Linked DNA regions of Homo sapiens: region 1 is linked to region 2. Evidence: promoter capture Hi-C in human tissues and cell types (Jung and others, 2019). All regions are on one chromosome and are shown on one strand. The core of a region is centred on a gene start or on the middle of the fragment in contact, and the rest is flanking DNA. Distances in the headings are between cores, read along the strand shown. Region 1 has its middle 10 kb from the start of SMCR2. Region 2 holds the start of TOM1L2 (target of myb1 like 2 membrane trafficking protein).

Evidence for each region. The method cuts DNA at HindIII sites, captures the fragments that hold promoters and counts their contacts. A contact is called where the count stands out against the background at its distance.
Region 1: a contact is called between a fragment that was not itself captured here and the fragment with the promoter of TOM1L2 in region 2, in 2 of the 25 tissues and cell types used here (H1 embryonic stem cells and liver).

What each region holds. Positions count from the first base shown.
Region 1 is chr17:17,663,929-17,670,697 of GRCh38, forward strand. No RefSeq gene overlaps it. Among named protein-coding and RNA genes, the nearest start is that of SMCR2, 10 kb to the right of the region's middle. RefSeq lists enhancers at 3,547-4,048, 4,049-4,548. The HindIII fragment of the contact is 4,773 bases long and covers 1-3,890 here.
Region 2 is chr17:17,965,972-17,973,649 of GRCh38, forward strand. TOM1L2 (target of myb1 like 2 membrane trafficking protein) reads right to left here and starts at 6,429. Exons shown (of 15, transcript NM_001082968.2): 1 at 6,291-6,429. The coding sequence starts at 6,342. DRC3 (dynein regulatory complex subunit 3) reads left to right here and starts at 6,891. Exons shown (of 14, transcript NM_031294.4): 1 at 6,891-7,003. RefSeq lists enhancers at 5,922-6,491, 6,863-7,182 and a silencer at 6,133-6,182. The HindIII fragment of the contact is 12,285 bases long and covers 1-7,678 here.

The sequences.
Region 1 (6,769 bases), core at 254-2,753, 310 kb before region 2:
AGGGTCCTCTTTCCACTGCCCTGAATCCAATCCAGGGGAGCTCCCAGCTGTGCACACCATTTCCAGACAAGAGCAATAGATTATCAGCTCTCACTTGCACCAGAGTTGGTTCTGCCCTTGTAGAGCTCCCTTGGTAGGTAGTGAGATCCCCATCATGAGCAGCATCCAAGCAGAGACTGTCATAGCTGCTATGGAGAAGCATCAAGTATCAGGGGACAAGGGGTTGGACCAGACGGCCTGGCTTTGAGTTGTAAATGACAAAAAAAATTATTGGCAAACAAAACAGGAATATAAAAGCTTCAGGAACAGCTGGATCCAGCTGTCAGATGTCATCAGGAATCTTCTTCTGGATTTCCCCTTCCTTGGGGTTCACTTTCTTCTCAGAATAACCTTCCCTAGCCTAGGGTAGACCTCACAGCTGCAGGCTTACATCGGTCGTGGCCCCCAAAAGCAAGCTTAATAGATGTTTGTCAGATGAATGCTAGAAGCATGATAAGGTTGCGGGTCTCAGTCTAAGTAAATCCCAACTTGACCTCTGGGAGTCACTCTGAGGAGGCGCAGTGCTCATTCCTGTGTGCCAAATCCCATCATCTCTCAAACGTCGTATGATTGAGTTAGATTGTACTATGCACTTCACAGACATTAACTCATGGAAATCCCAGGCAGCCCTATGCAGTGGTCACAATCTCCATCTCATGGACGGGGACACAGGGTCCCAAAGAGGCAAAGTGTGGTACCTGAGGTAGGGCTAGAGCCACACAGTGCCTTACCAGGCTGAGATCAGGAGGCCGTACCTCTGAACGAGGGCAGGACTGTTCTTCACAGGCAGCTTTCCTCCAAGGAGGCAGAGGACGGCACTGGCACGTTCACTCAGCAGCCAACATTGGCAAGCACCCACTCTACCCCGTGGCCCGGGGTGCCACTGCCCATGGAGCTTGGAGGTGCCAACTGCTGCCAGTGACCTTGGGTAAGTCATTTTGTGCTTGATCCTTGCATCCCCATCTGTAAATGGGCAGGTCACCCCACTCAGAGGGGCAGAACTCATGTCAGTGGTTGAACGCTTCTGGCAGTACAGCCCAATAGAACTTCCTATACCAGGTCCCACAGGGTGGCCACACACCGCTCCTGAACACCAGAAAGTGACTAGTATAATAATAACAATTTTAAAGGCCGGGCGCGGTGGCTCATGCCTGTAATCCCAGCACTTTGGGAGGCCAAGGTAGGCGGATCACAAGGTCAGGAGTTCAAGACCAGCCTGGCCAACAGAGTGAAACCCTGTCTCTACCAAAAATACAAAAATTACCCGGGTGTGGTGGCATGTGCCTATAGTTCCAGCTACTAGGGAGGCTGAAGCGGAAGAATCGCTTGAACCCGGGAGGTGGAGGTTGCAGTGAGCTGAGACCGCACCATTTGTACTCCAGCTTGGGTGATAGAGTGAGACTCTAAAAGAAACACACACACACACACACACAATTTTAAGTTTTATTTCTTTTAAATTGATTGAAATGTACCTAGCTACACGTGGCTAATGACAACCATATTGAGCAGCAAAGCTCCAGGGTTCTAGACAAACAGCAGATATTAATTTTGGTTTTGTTCTGTTTTACTAACCCCACCCCATGCTCCAGTGCAGGCAGCCTGGTCCCTAGCTTGTCTCAGAGAGCTTTGCTGGCCTCCTTTGCCAGACCCGGTGGCCAGACTCATCATGGCCTTGGGACCTTTGTGTGGCTCTGGAGAAGAAAGAAGCTCCCAATAATGGCTGAGATTCAGTTGCCCACCAGCCAGCAGGATAGGGGCTTAGAACAGGATGTAAGATGATTTAAAGAAAAAAAGGGGCTGGGCGTGGTGGCTCATGCCTGTAATCCCAGAATTTTGGGAGGCCGAGGAGGGTGGATCACTTGAGGTCAGGAGTTCGAAACCAGCTTGGCCAACATGCTGAAACCCCATCTCTACTAAAAATACAAAATAATTAGCCGGGCGTGGCAGCCGGCGCCTGTAATCCTAGCTACTTGGGAGGCTGAGGCAGGGGAATCGCTTGAACCCGGGAAGTGGAGGTTGTAGTGAGCCGAGATCACACCACTGAACTCCAGCCTGGGTGACAGAGTGAGATCCATCTCAAAAAAAAAAAAAAAGAAAAAGAAAAAAGGAAGCTGGCTGTTTCTGGCACACCTGGGTTTTCCACTGGGTCTATACCAGGTGCACAAGTGCCTACTCCCCACCTCTATACCCGCACAACCCACCACGTGGACATGCACCAAACACACCCCCCAGCTGTGTGTGGACACAAGCAGCCAACACATGCTCTGTGGCTTACTCCTCCCATGCTCCTGGGCCTGGGCTGAGGGTCCAGCAGTTCACAGAACATCCACGTGGTCTGGGCTTCCAGAGCCTGTCCATCCTCCATCCCCTCTACCTGCCCAGGATCCCCGGGCCCCTGCTGGCCTACAGGAGTAAATGGCCACCTGCACACCCTACACACTCACGCCCAGCTCTGGATGGACATGAGGCAGGGCGAGGTCTGGGCGGTAGCCAGGAAATCCTAAGCTGTGAGTGTTCGTTCCCTGTTGCTGCTGTAAAGAGTTACTACACATGTCGGGGCTTAGAACAGCAGAAATGATTCTCTTGCAGTTCTGGAGACTGGGTGTCCAAAATCAGTATCACTGGTCTCGAGTCATGGCGTCTGTGGGGCTGTGCCCCCTCGGAGGCGCCAGGGGAGAACCTGTGCAGGGCCCCTTGCAGCCTCAGCCAGCTGCCCTGGTGATCCCTGGCTGTGTTTGCATCACTCTGGTCTCTGCCTCGGTGGCCGCGCAGTCTCCTCCTCCGTGCTTGTGTTGTCGAGTCTCCCTCAGCCTCTCTCTGTTGTGGACACTAGGGACAGCATTTAAGGAACCCCTAGATAGCCCAGGATCATCTCCTTATCTCAAGACCTTTAACTTTGCACATCTGCAGGAGCCCATTTTTTGGCTGTAAAGGGGACACCCACACGTTCCAGGGATGAGGACCTGGATATCTTTAGGGGCCATTTTTCAGCCTACCATCATGAGCCGCAGACACTCCGTGGCCAGCTCCCAAACTTAGCTCTGGCTGTGGGGCCGGGTACAGTGACAGACCTGAGACCCCATCAGCGCTGACACCATAGGCCCCAAGAGCCTGTGACCATGGCTGGTGAGAGCTCCCCAGAACAGTGGGGCTCTCAGAGAAGTAGAGTGAGGAGCACAGAGAGACGGATGGGTAGGTCCTGGGAGCAGGAAGGTATGAATTCAGGGGAGGCACACCGTGGCCTCCAAGCTGGGCCTCCACAGTGTCTCACTTCATCTTCCCACAGCCCTTGACAGATTAGGAAACCAAGGCTCACAGAAGCAACAGCTAAGTCCTCTGTGCAGCTTACCTCTGAACGGCCCCACAGAGAAGCTGTTAGCAGCTCCAAGTTACAGGGGGAGGAAGTGCCTGCTCAGAGGTGATGTGACTTGCCCAAGGTCACACAGCAACAGGTGGCAGGGCAGAAGCATGAGCCCTCTGGCTGACTCAAGCACCCACCTTCTTGGTGCCTCACCAGGTTCCCAGAAGCCAGAGGGTGAGCTGGTTTTGGAGAATGACCAGGATTTGGGGAAATGGAGAAGGAGGGTAGATGAACTTTGAGAGCTGAGTGGATCAATGGGATTTTTTTCTGGCTTTGGAGGGAGGTGACCTCAGCGTGGGGGTCAGTGTCTCTGCTATTGGGCAGGTTCCTCCTCTCAGGGGCCCCAGAACAGACTCCAACAACGTCCATCCCAGCAACAGGTGGGGGTCTTGGGAGGGTTATGTCTAAAGGGCTGTGTTCACCCCACAGATGACTCTCAGGGGCCTGCCATGGCCCCTCCCTCCTTGGTTTTTTCTCCCTTTTGTCTGCTGCCCCCATCCCACAGGCCCTGGAGGGCAGCAGGAAGGAGAAGGGCAGGGGTTGTGGCATGGCTGAGTGCACCCTCATTTCTAGGGACTCAGGAGAGCAGAAAGAGCTGAGTGCCCCCCAGGAGCAAGCCAGGAAGGGGCCATTCTTGCCTCCAGCGGTGGCTGGGAGCTGGCCCCATCAGGAATGGGGTAAGGCTCCAACCAGCAGCCCTGAGACCCCAGCCTGGCCCTCTAGGGCTGCACACAGAGTTGCACACACCCCACCCACGTGTGTGGACAGATGCACACCCCTCCCTCCTTACACCTGGGCCTCTAACAACAGTTAGATGCCACAGAGGGCCTGGGCACGCCATCTGTTGTTCAGGCCACACCCTGCTCTTGCTCAGGTGGAAAACTCTGGAGTGTCCTGGGCTCCTCTCCTCACCCCACGTCAGAAATTCTTGTCTATTCTACCTTCAAGGTATATTTGGAATTGGAATCTTTTCATTGCCCACAGCCCCACCCTGGCCAGGGCCCCCTGGATTCCCAGGCCTCCTGCTCCTGCCCTGGCCCCTCTCAGCAGCCAGGGTGCACTGTGAGGACCTAGGGGAGATCCCAGCTCTCCCTGAAGGACCCCGTCACTCAGGGTCTGAGCCAGAGGCCCCACTGTACACTGTGGCCACCCAAGCTGGTCCTGACCCTCTCTGTCCTTGCCTCCTGCTCTCTGCCCCCATGCATTGCTCTTCAGCCCCACAGGCCTCCCCACTGCTCCCGGCACACTCCTGCCTCAGGACCTTTACACCTGCTGTCTCCTCTTCCCAGCTCCCCACACATCTGTCCCCTGCCTCCCTCAGGTCTCTAGAGGCTCTAAGACCACCTTCTCTCACCTAACTAACAAGCTGCTTCCCCCTCCCACCCCCTCCCGCACCCCCTGGGACACTCATCATCCATAGCTCCTATATTTACCTTTCTATTTTGTCTGTCTCTCTCCTGCCCCAGATACCCACTAGAATGTTGGCTCCATGAGGACATGGATTTGTGTCTGCTTCAGTCACTGTTGCACCCCTACCCAGCCCAGCATCCGGGGCATTGCAGGCTCTAACACCTGTGGAGGGAAAGAGTGCAGACAGAGACAGGCAGGGGCAGGTGACCTGTACACACTCAAGGCCTAGCGGGGCACTGGCACAGCTGCACATGCCCACACCTGCGCACACACACGCACACGCGCGCGCGCACACACACACACACGGGCCCTGAGCTGAATGCCCTTGGCTCAGTGGGGCCTTGGACGACAGTCTGGCCCTGGCTCTTGGGCAGCTGGAGTCTTTGTCCTCACCCAAGACTGCCAGCCCACCCCAGCTGTGGCTGCTGATGCCCCAGATGGGCCTGCACTTCTGAAGAGAAAGGACCAGTTTCCTGCAGCCAAACCTCCAGTGCAGACCACAGAGCAGCCACGGCATCTGAGCTCCTCTCTCCCTCCCGCCTCTGCATCCCTGACTCATCCCCCACCCCAGGGAGGCAGCCTAGGCCCAACTGCCCCACTGAGCAGAAGGGAAGGCTGAGGCAGGAGGCTGAGCCAGCCAGCTGCCCCCGTTAAAGGAGAAGCAGATAGACGTGGCTTCCAGCCCAGCCCCTCCCTGGCTCAAGCGGTCACCTCCCAAACAGTCTGACCGCAGTCTGTGGGGGCTCCCTGGGCACCCTTGAGCCATGCGTGTGCAGCCAGTATGCACACTCCCGCCAGCCGGCCCCTCCAGCCCAGCTTATCACTGATGACTTTCCCAACAGAGATCGATAGAAAACCTTTTATCTCCTTCCCCGTGGTGGCTCAGACTCAGGCCTCAGAGCAGAGCTGGCTCCTGTTACTATGGTGACCCTCAAGGACCTCACTGACTCCCTCCCATTCACCCCCATCCCCACTCCCTCCTCCCTCCATCCTCCCTTCCCCTCCCCCACTCCCACTCCCTCCCCATCCCATCCTCCCTTCCCCACTCCCTGCCCCAGCCCCTCTCCTACTCCCTCCCCACCCCCATCCCACAGCCTGGGATCAATGCTGGTTCCCTACAGGGCCTGCACACCTCCCGGCTGCTCATGGCTGACAGGGAGGGGCCTGGGGGGCTCCTTGCACCCACCCAAGCCCCATCTGCTCCTGGTCTCGACCTTGCCAGTCCCCCACTTTCATGCCAAACTACAGCTCCAGTGCCCGATTGAGGCCTCCCACCTGCCCACACCGTCCTCAGCATTCTGTAACTGCTCACTTATATCAATGAGTTGTTTCCCCCTCCATACAGACAGATGGCACCCCTCCATACAGGGCTGCTGGGAGCTGTGAGCATTACATAAGCACAAACCTATGTTGAGTTTGGCCTGTGGCTGATGCTCAAGATATACTAGCCATTGTTAATAAGCCTCAATTTGTGCATTTATTAAATAGGTATAAAAGGTATTATGGTTGTAAAGATTAAATGAGAGACAGACACAAATAGTTTAGCTCACGGCCTGGCACGTTCTAAACACTACATCCATGAAGGGACACACAGCCTCCCTTCTTCCTTAGCCTCCTTTCTTCCTTTGTTCTTTGAAGGTGTTTAGGTATGGGGAGGAGGTGGGAGGAACAGGTGCATCCCCGCCCTCCATGGAGGCTCCATAGCCTTGGCCTGCAGCATGCAGGCCAAGGAGAACAATGCCCCATCAGGGTCCAAGTAACCTGTGCCCTCTCTCTGCCCACAAAGCTATATTGGTTGTGCCTCACTTTGGCGGAGGCCAGATTTTCCTCCCATGTTACCCTTGCCTTCCTGCCTGGAGGCCGGGGCTGCTCTCTTCCTTCTGCCTGGAATGCCTTGCCATACGGCCAGCCCCACAATCAGGGAACCATCTTCAAGGGAAGTGCTATGGCACCGAGATC
Region 2 (7,678 bases), core at 5,179-7,678:
TTAGCCGGGCATGATGGTGGGCACCTGTAATCCCAGCTACTTGGGAGGCTGAGACAGGAGAATCCCTTAAACCCAGGAGGTGGAGGTTGCAGTGAGCTGAGATCGCGCCACTGCACTCCACCCTGGGCAACAGAGCAAGACTCCATCTGGAAAACAAAGAAACAAAAAAACAAACAAAAAACCCAAAAGCCTTTAGCTATTATTATTACCACCTGAGGTCACCCCTCCCCTCCTACATTTCCTTACTGCATTTATCTATCCAATCTTGCAACTACTTTCTATCTGATCTAATTTAGATACCTACACACTGGGAAATTCTCAGCTTGCTATATACAGATAGTACAGGGCCACTGAATAAATAAATGAACAAATTCTAAATAATCACTCTTTTAGCCTGTCCACAAGAAAACCTACATTTAATGTTTGAAGAAAGATAAAGAAAAGATTAAAGAAACAGAACTTCAAAGCAAGAACTACAGTTCTCGAAGTGAACCAGTAGCATCAGCATCACTAGAGAACTTGACAGAAATGTAGAATGCTACTTCCCACCCCAAACCTACTGAAACAGAAACTCTGAGGGTAGGATCCACTTTTAACAAGCCCTCCAGGTGATTCCCTTGCGGCTGAATCATGAGCTCAGAGTGCAAAAAGTAACATAAATGGCAGCACAGAATGAGCACTGGATCAGGAGTAGATTCTAGGCTTCACTCTGCCATTGACCTTGCACAAGTCTCTTAACTTCTCAGAGCCTCGATTTCCTTATGTGATACAGGGATGATAACACCCAAATAGTTAAATGTTGTGAGGGTTAAATGAGATTCTATGTACAGAGTTTGCATATAGTTGGTACTTAATAATTATAAGTTCCTTCCAGTTATCTTCCTGTATATCTCACAAGGTTGTGAACACTAAATAAAATGACTGAAGCAAAAGGGCTTTGCAAATTCCTGCCCTTGAACATCAGACTCCAAGTTCTTCAGCTTTGGGACTCAGACTGGCTTCCTTGCTTCTCAGCTTGCAGATGGCCTACTGTGGGACCTCATCTTGTGATTGTGTGAGTCAGTACTCCTTAATAAACTCCCCTTAATATAAACATCTACCCTATTAGTTGTGTCCCTCTAGAGAACCCTAATACACATAGCAATCTGAGGGACAACTAACTATTCTTGGTACAAATAGCCAGGTTAAACGTCTACCATTCACAGGATATTATGAAGTAGTTTATGTCCAACACCAGTCAGTCTACAAACAAACTCTGCAACAGAATATCTGCTTCTTGCCTGTTTATTAAAGCAGAACAATGAAGAGAATACATGCCCACCACCCCCAATATTCTGGTCAGAATTAACTAACTACTCACTGATCTTTGAATCTAAACTTTACTCTTGGAAAAGGATTTTCTGAAAACTTTTTCTAGCCAACACAAGGAAAACTGCAAACTGCTGCAGACACAATGGACCTGACTTGGGGAACTCCCCATGTATGTCATCCAACTCCAAGCAGTTGTGGAAGGCTGAGATTAAGACAGTTAACATTTTGAAGCTTGTTGCAGAACAGAAAATTAAGAAATACAAGTAAGTACTCTTTCTTCCACCACACTTCTTAGCCTCGCACACCATGGCTAGGCTTTCTCTCTCTTTTTTTTCTTTTTTGGAGATGCAGTCTCGCTCTGTCATTCAGGCTGGAGTGCAAATGGCACGATCTCGGCTCACTGCAACCTCCACCTCCCAGGTTCAAGGGATTCTTCCGCCTCAGCCTCCCGAGTAGCTGGGATTATACGCGCGTGCCACCATGCCCAGCTAATTTTTGTATTTTTAGTAGAGATGGGGTTTTGCCACATTAACCAGGCTGGTCTTGAACTCCTAACCTCAGGTGATCCACCCGCCACGGCCTCCCAAAGTGCTGGATTACAGGTGTGAGCCACCGCACCTGTCCAGCTTACTCTCTCCCTAAACCATGCTTTCTACTCAGGAACTGCCCTCCAGAATAAAGGGCGGGATGGATGCAAGAAATGCACAGTTAACTATGTCAGACTGTGGTCTTAGCCGCTAACTTGAGATGAACACGCTAAGTGTTCTACTAAATCGTACCAGGTTAGAATGTTCACATGAGGCCCACGCATAAGACAGAGTAAGAATTACTCCACCAACCGCTCAGACAGACCCAGGACACCTTTTGTGAGCATGTTACCTCTACCGAAGGCTCCCTAAGAGCAGCTTGTTAATATTTGTATCCCCAGAGCCTGGCACAGGCCTGGCCCCCCACAGGCACTCATAACTGCCTACTGAAGTGAACAGACAAAATTATTTAGGTGTAAGCCCCATGCAGCTGTTGAGAAGTATTATTTTATAAGCAGGGAAAATTAGGTCCAAAGAGACTAAAAGTTGAAGTCAGTTAAAGAACGTAGTCTTTGGGCCGGGCGCAATGGCTCACTCCTATAATCCTAGCACTTTGGGAGGCCAAGGAGGGTGGATCACGAGGTCAGGAGTTCAAGACCAGCCTGGCCAAGGTAGTGAAACCTTGTCTCTACTAAAAATACAAAAATTAGCCCGGCACGGTGCCAGGCACCAGTAATCCCAGCTACTTGGGAGGCTGAGACAGGAGAATCGCTTGAACTTGTGGGGCGGAGGTTGCAGTGAGCTTAGATCGTGCCACTGCACTCCAGCCTGGGTGATGAAGTGAGACTCCATCTCAAAAAAAAAAAAAAAAAGAATGTAGTCTTTGATGCCACCCATCCAGAGCAGGGCTTCCTCCTGTGCCCAAACCCTACTTGCCACCACTCCCCACAGCCACCTCTGCTCCATTCAGACTGGTACTCACAGATGTGCCTGTGCCCCACTCCCTGCCTCATTCAGCTGTCCCTAGGCCCAATGATATTGTTTTCTGCATGCAGAGTTCCTACCCATCCTTTATGAACAGCCCTCAGACTCAAAGAAGCCAGTCCCTGTCACCCCAGCCTCTTCTGAATTGTTTCTGACTCCTTCAGCACTTACAATCTACACCACTCATTGTTTCATGCATCTCTGTCTTCTCTCCTGAAACCGTAAATCCATTGAGGACAGGGATCAGAGAGGGACCAGCTCTCCTTTTTTTTTTTTTTTTGGAGACAGAGTCTCACTCTGTCGCCCAGGCTGGAGCGCGGTGGCACAATCTTGGCTCACTGCAACCTCTGCCTCCCAGGTTCAAGCGATTCTCCTGTCTCAGCCTCCTGAATAGCTGGGATTACAGGCGCCCACCACCACACCCGGCTCATTTTTGTATTACTAGTAGAGACAGGGTTTCACCATATTGGTCAGGCTGGCCTCCAACTCCTGACCTCAAGTGATCCACCACCTTGGCCTCCCAAAGTGCTGGGATTACAGGCATGAGCCACCACAACCAGCCTACAGCTGCTGTTTTTAATCATTAGCTTTGTAGTTGTTATTTTATTTCTGTATTCCCCCTCCCTCCCACCAATCCCCCACCCCCGCACATTCTTTTAAAAGAATACTAACAACACTAAATATCAAGAAAGTCACTTTGACACTTTGTCACAACAGTACGGAATATACATTAGAACCTAATTCTGTCCATTAATCATTTACCTGAACTGAACTGAAATGACCTATTGGCTACCTGGCAGTGGGGAGCCATCATCATCTTTAGTCAAGCATCTTATGAGCAATGGTGAATCCTGGGGCCTGGTAGGGTATTTTCCTTCACAGGTCACAGACGGGCCAGTTGTTTCACATATCCTCTCCAGATAGAAAATCCAACCCTAACTTAAATATTCTGTTATTAACAGTGGCAGTTTCAATTTACTGAGCTTCTACTATGTTCCAGATACTATGCTAAGTGTTTTCATACATTATCTCATTTAAACTACATTACTCTGTGAATAGGAATCTTTCTCTCTCTCTCTCTCTCTCTCAGAAGACTGACAAACTAAACCTCAGAAAGCAACACAATTTTCTGGGGTCACACAGCCAAGAAATGGGGGCCAGGTCAAAATTCAACTTAGGTCTCCCTGACAGAAGTATCAAGCTCTTTCCACTTGCTATATATCCCTATATCTCTTATATTTGGTTTTTTGTTGTTGTTGTTGTTGTTTGTTTGTTTTTTGAGACAGAGTCTCACTCTGTCGCCCAGGCTGGAGTGCAGTGGCACAATCTCAGCTCACTGCAAACTCCGCCTCCCGGGTTCAAGCAATTCTCCTGCCTCAGCCTCCCGAGTAGCTGGGACTACAGGCGCATGCCACCACGCCTGGCTAATTTTCTTTTTTTTTTTGGATTTTTAGTAGAGACGGGGTTTCACCGTGTTAGCCAAGATGGTCTCGATCTCCTGACCTTGTGATCCGCCCGCCTCAACCTCCCAAAGTGCTGAGATTACAGGCGTGAGCCACCGCACCCAACCACATTTGTATTTTAAATCCCCTTTAACTTCTACCCCTCATTTACTACCTTGTCATTTTAAAGGTGTAGAGCTTCCTATTATAAAGGGGACAGAAAGGAAAACAATTCTCGCAAGTTTTCTGGCTCCCTCCATTAACTGGCTGGAAATTAGTTTTTGGAGTGTGGCTGCCATGCAAGAGCACCTGAAGAGAGTGGAAAAGGACATGGGGAAGAAGTAAGGAAGTGAGAATCCAGAGACTCTCCAGTGGGCAGCAAGAGACAAGATGTCAAAAAGGTGGGAAAACACTCTTTTGGGGTCCCTCATGCATTATAAAAGATACTACGCCAGAAAGTAAAGAAAGGCTCCTAAATGCTAATTAGCCAACAGGAGAGACCTCAATAAGTTTATAGGCTCCACTAAAGGCTGGAAAGTAAGCTAAAATTTCATAAGCAAAGCAGAAAATAAACAAATCACTACTGCTGAAATCAGGCCCATAAGAACACCAAAGATCCTGGCTCATAAAAGACGTTTTACCAGTCCTTCAACCAACCAGGAGGAATCCAGTTTTCAAACAAACTAATCAGCATTCTTGACTGATCAAGTGGCATAAGCCACTGCCTTGGGTAAAAAGGCAAGTTGCTTTCTTAGTAAGGAAGTCCCATATGGTGGCCATTTCAGTATTCCTTTACCTACACTTTGGGCTTTCCTTATCCATGATTCTGGCCATCTCTGGTGTCCCCAGGTGTCCACATCCCCCCTATAGGATTAACAGATAATGCTGAGTACCATTCTCTCTACATTGCCAACAAAAGATTTCAGCTTTGGTAAACTTAATATGAGGTGGGGGAGGAAGCAACAGTCAATGTGCAGAGTACTACAAAGAATATCAAAACTTGAGAACTTTAAGGGATCTATCACATCTCATCTCCAAACACTTTGACAGACAGGGGAACTTCAAACCAGAAAGGGCACAAGGTCATATGGAGTCACTGACAAAACCACTGCTAGAGTCCAGGCTTCCATGATTCCCAGTCCAGGGCTCTTATCATTAAATAACACAGCCTCCCTTCTTTCCTGGGAGGCACTGCAGGCATGCCATCCCCCTGCCAAGATAATCACCCTCCAAGAGCCCCTCCTCCTATCCCAGTCCCTCCTACAGCACAGCTGAGTTGCAGCTCAAATTAGCAAGTCCCGGAGCAGGGGGCATTTCTGGGAGGGTGCCCAGTCTGAGGGTTGCTGGTACCGAAGAGGAGGGACAAAGATGGAGAAGAAGGTGACATCCCACAAAGGGTTTGGGAGAACTGGGTCCTTGGGGCAGTGGCAGTGAGCCTGCTGGGCTGGATAAAGACACATGCAGTGGCATCTCCCAAAGCGCATTGGGGAAGCAGACCAGCAGTTGGCACCACCTCTAGCAGCAAAAGGAAGGGCTGAGCCTTGATGGGCAGGGAAGCCTGGGGCATCTCCGAGTCCAAGTTGGGCCTCAGGGGTGCCTCCTGGCAGAGTGGCACTGGCGCGCCCGTGAGGTGGCACCAGTGCCCGGGAGGAGGCCCGAGGACACAGATGCCCTGCCTGCCCGTGGGATAGCACCGGCACCCGGCGAAGGCCCAGCCCCCCCGGGAGGTGGCACCGGCGCCCGGCGAACGCCCGACGACCAGGATGCCCAACCCGCCCGTGAGGTGGCACCGACGCCCAGTGAAGGCCAGACGACCAGGATGCCCAGCCCGCCCGTGAGGTGGCACAAGCGCCCGGCAAAGGCCCGACGACCAGGATGCCCAGCCCGCTCGTGGAGTGGCACCCGCGGCTGGCGGAGGCCCAGCCCGCTCGTGAAGTGGCACCGGCGCCCGGCGGAGGCCCGCGGTCCTCACCAGCCGGATCAGCGGCCGCCGTTGCCCAGCCTCCTGCCCCACACGCGGCCTTACCGAGGCACTGCCCCACTGGTGTGCTGAACGGGTTCCCCAGGAGGAACTCCATCTTGGGTGGACAACACGCAGCGGCCCGGGCCCCCTGTCTGCCACCTAGGCCTCCGCTGTAACCCGCCGGACTCCCGTCCTGACTGACACTTGCCCCCTCCCCACTCTCTGGAACGCCGAGCTTAGGGCCTTTGGCCCCGCCCCCTTGCCGCGTCTCTATTGGGGGACACCTACGAAGCCCGCCTCCTATTGGTCGTTACACCTCTGTCAGCAAAGCCCCCACCCACCCCGCAGCGTCCGATTGGGCGGAGGAGCGAGCTAGGTCACCGGAGTCCCTGTCAGCCGTGGCGGCACCTCCCCTGGCCCGCCCCCAAAGGGGAAGCTGCGCATTTTGATTCCTCTGTATATTGGTCAATCTAAAGGATTCTTACTATTATTGGACAAAAGACGAGTCAATCACGCAAATGGACGGAACAGAGGTGAATCTAGGAATATCCCCGCCCATAGAAAGTACTGATTGGAGAAACATTTGTTTTCTCTACGGCTGGTTGGTGTAAGGAGTGTTTCACCACACGGAGATGTGGTCACGTGACTTGTCAACTTTCACCCAGGATGTCTCCCTTCTGACTTCCCCTTAGCAACCAAGTCGCGGCGCTTGGTTCCCCAGCAACCGGGAGACGCGTCTGCTGCGTGGAACCGCCGAGTTCCCAGCGCTTGAGAAGGTGAGACCTGGGAGCTGAGGCTCCCGGAGGACTTGCAGGGACAGATAGTGCCCGACGTAACTCTTTCCTGTGACCTTTTTCTCGGAGAACGCCGGCCCGGCCCTTCTCATTTATAAAATGAGCACGTAGGTCCTCTCCCAGCCACTTTACAGTCGTGTGAGACAGCCAAGACACTTTAGTCCTGGGCTTGTCAAGCTTTTGAATAAAAAAAAAAAAAAATACTAAGGAAGCATTTCCCGAGGGAGCAGGGCCAGAATGGATTTTTAAGGGGTTCCGTCTTCCAGCCTCCTTTCATAGAAAGAGAGGTACCCGGTCCACTGATAACTTTTCCCAGAATTTAGCCATCATAACTGACCTCATAACTATCAAATGATTTCATCTTGGTACTGTATATACCGCTTTGGATGTGAATACGGCTACTCAAGTTCTGTATCCGTCTCTGTCAGTAACTCATTGTACGACTTTGGACAAGTTCCTTTACCTCCCTGGAGCCTCAGGTTCCCTAGCTGGGAAATAAGGGCATTAGGACTCCCTTTTTATGGCCTCCGGAGCTTACATGTACTTAAATAATGCATGTGCACTGAGCACACAGTAAGCATTCAGTAAGTGATTGATTTTATTCTTTTTTAAGAAAAATTTTGTTCATTATTTATTTATTTATTTATTTTTTATTTT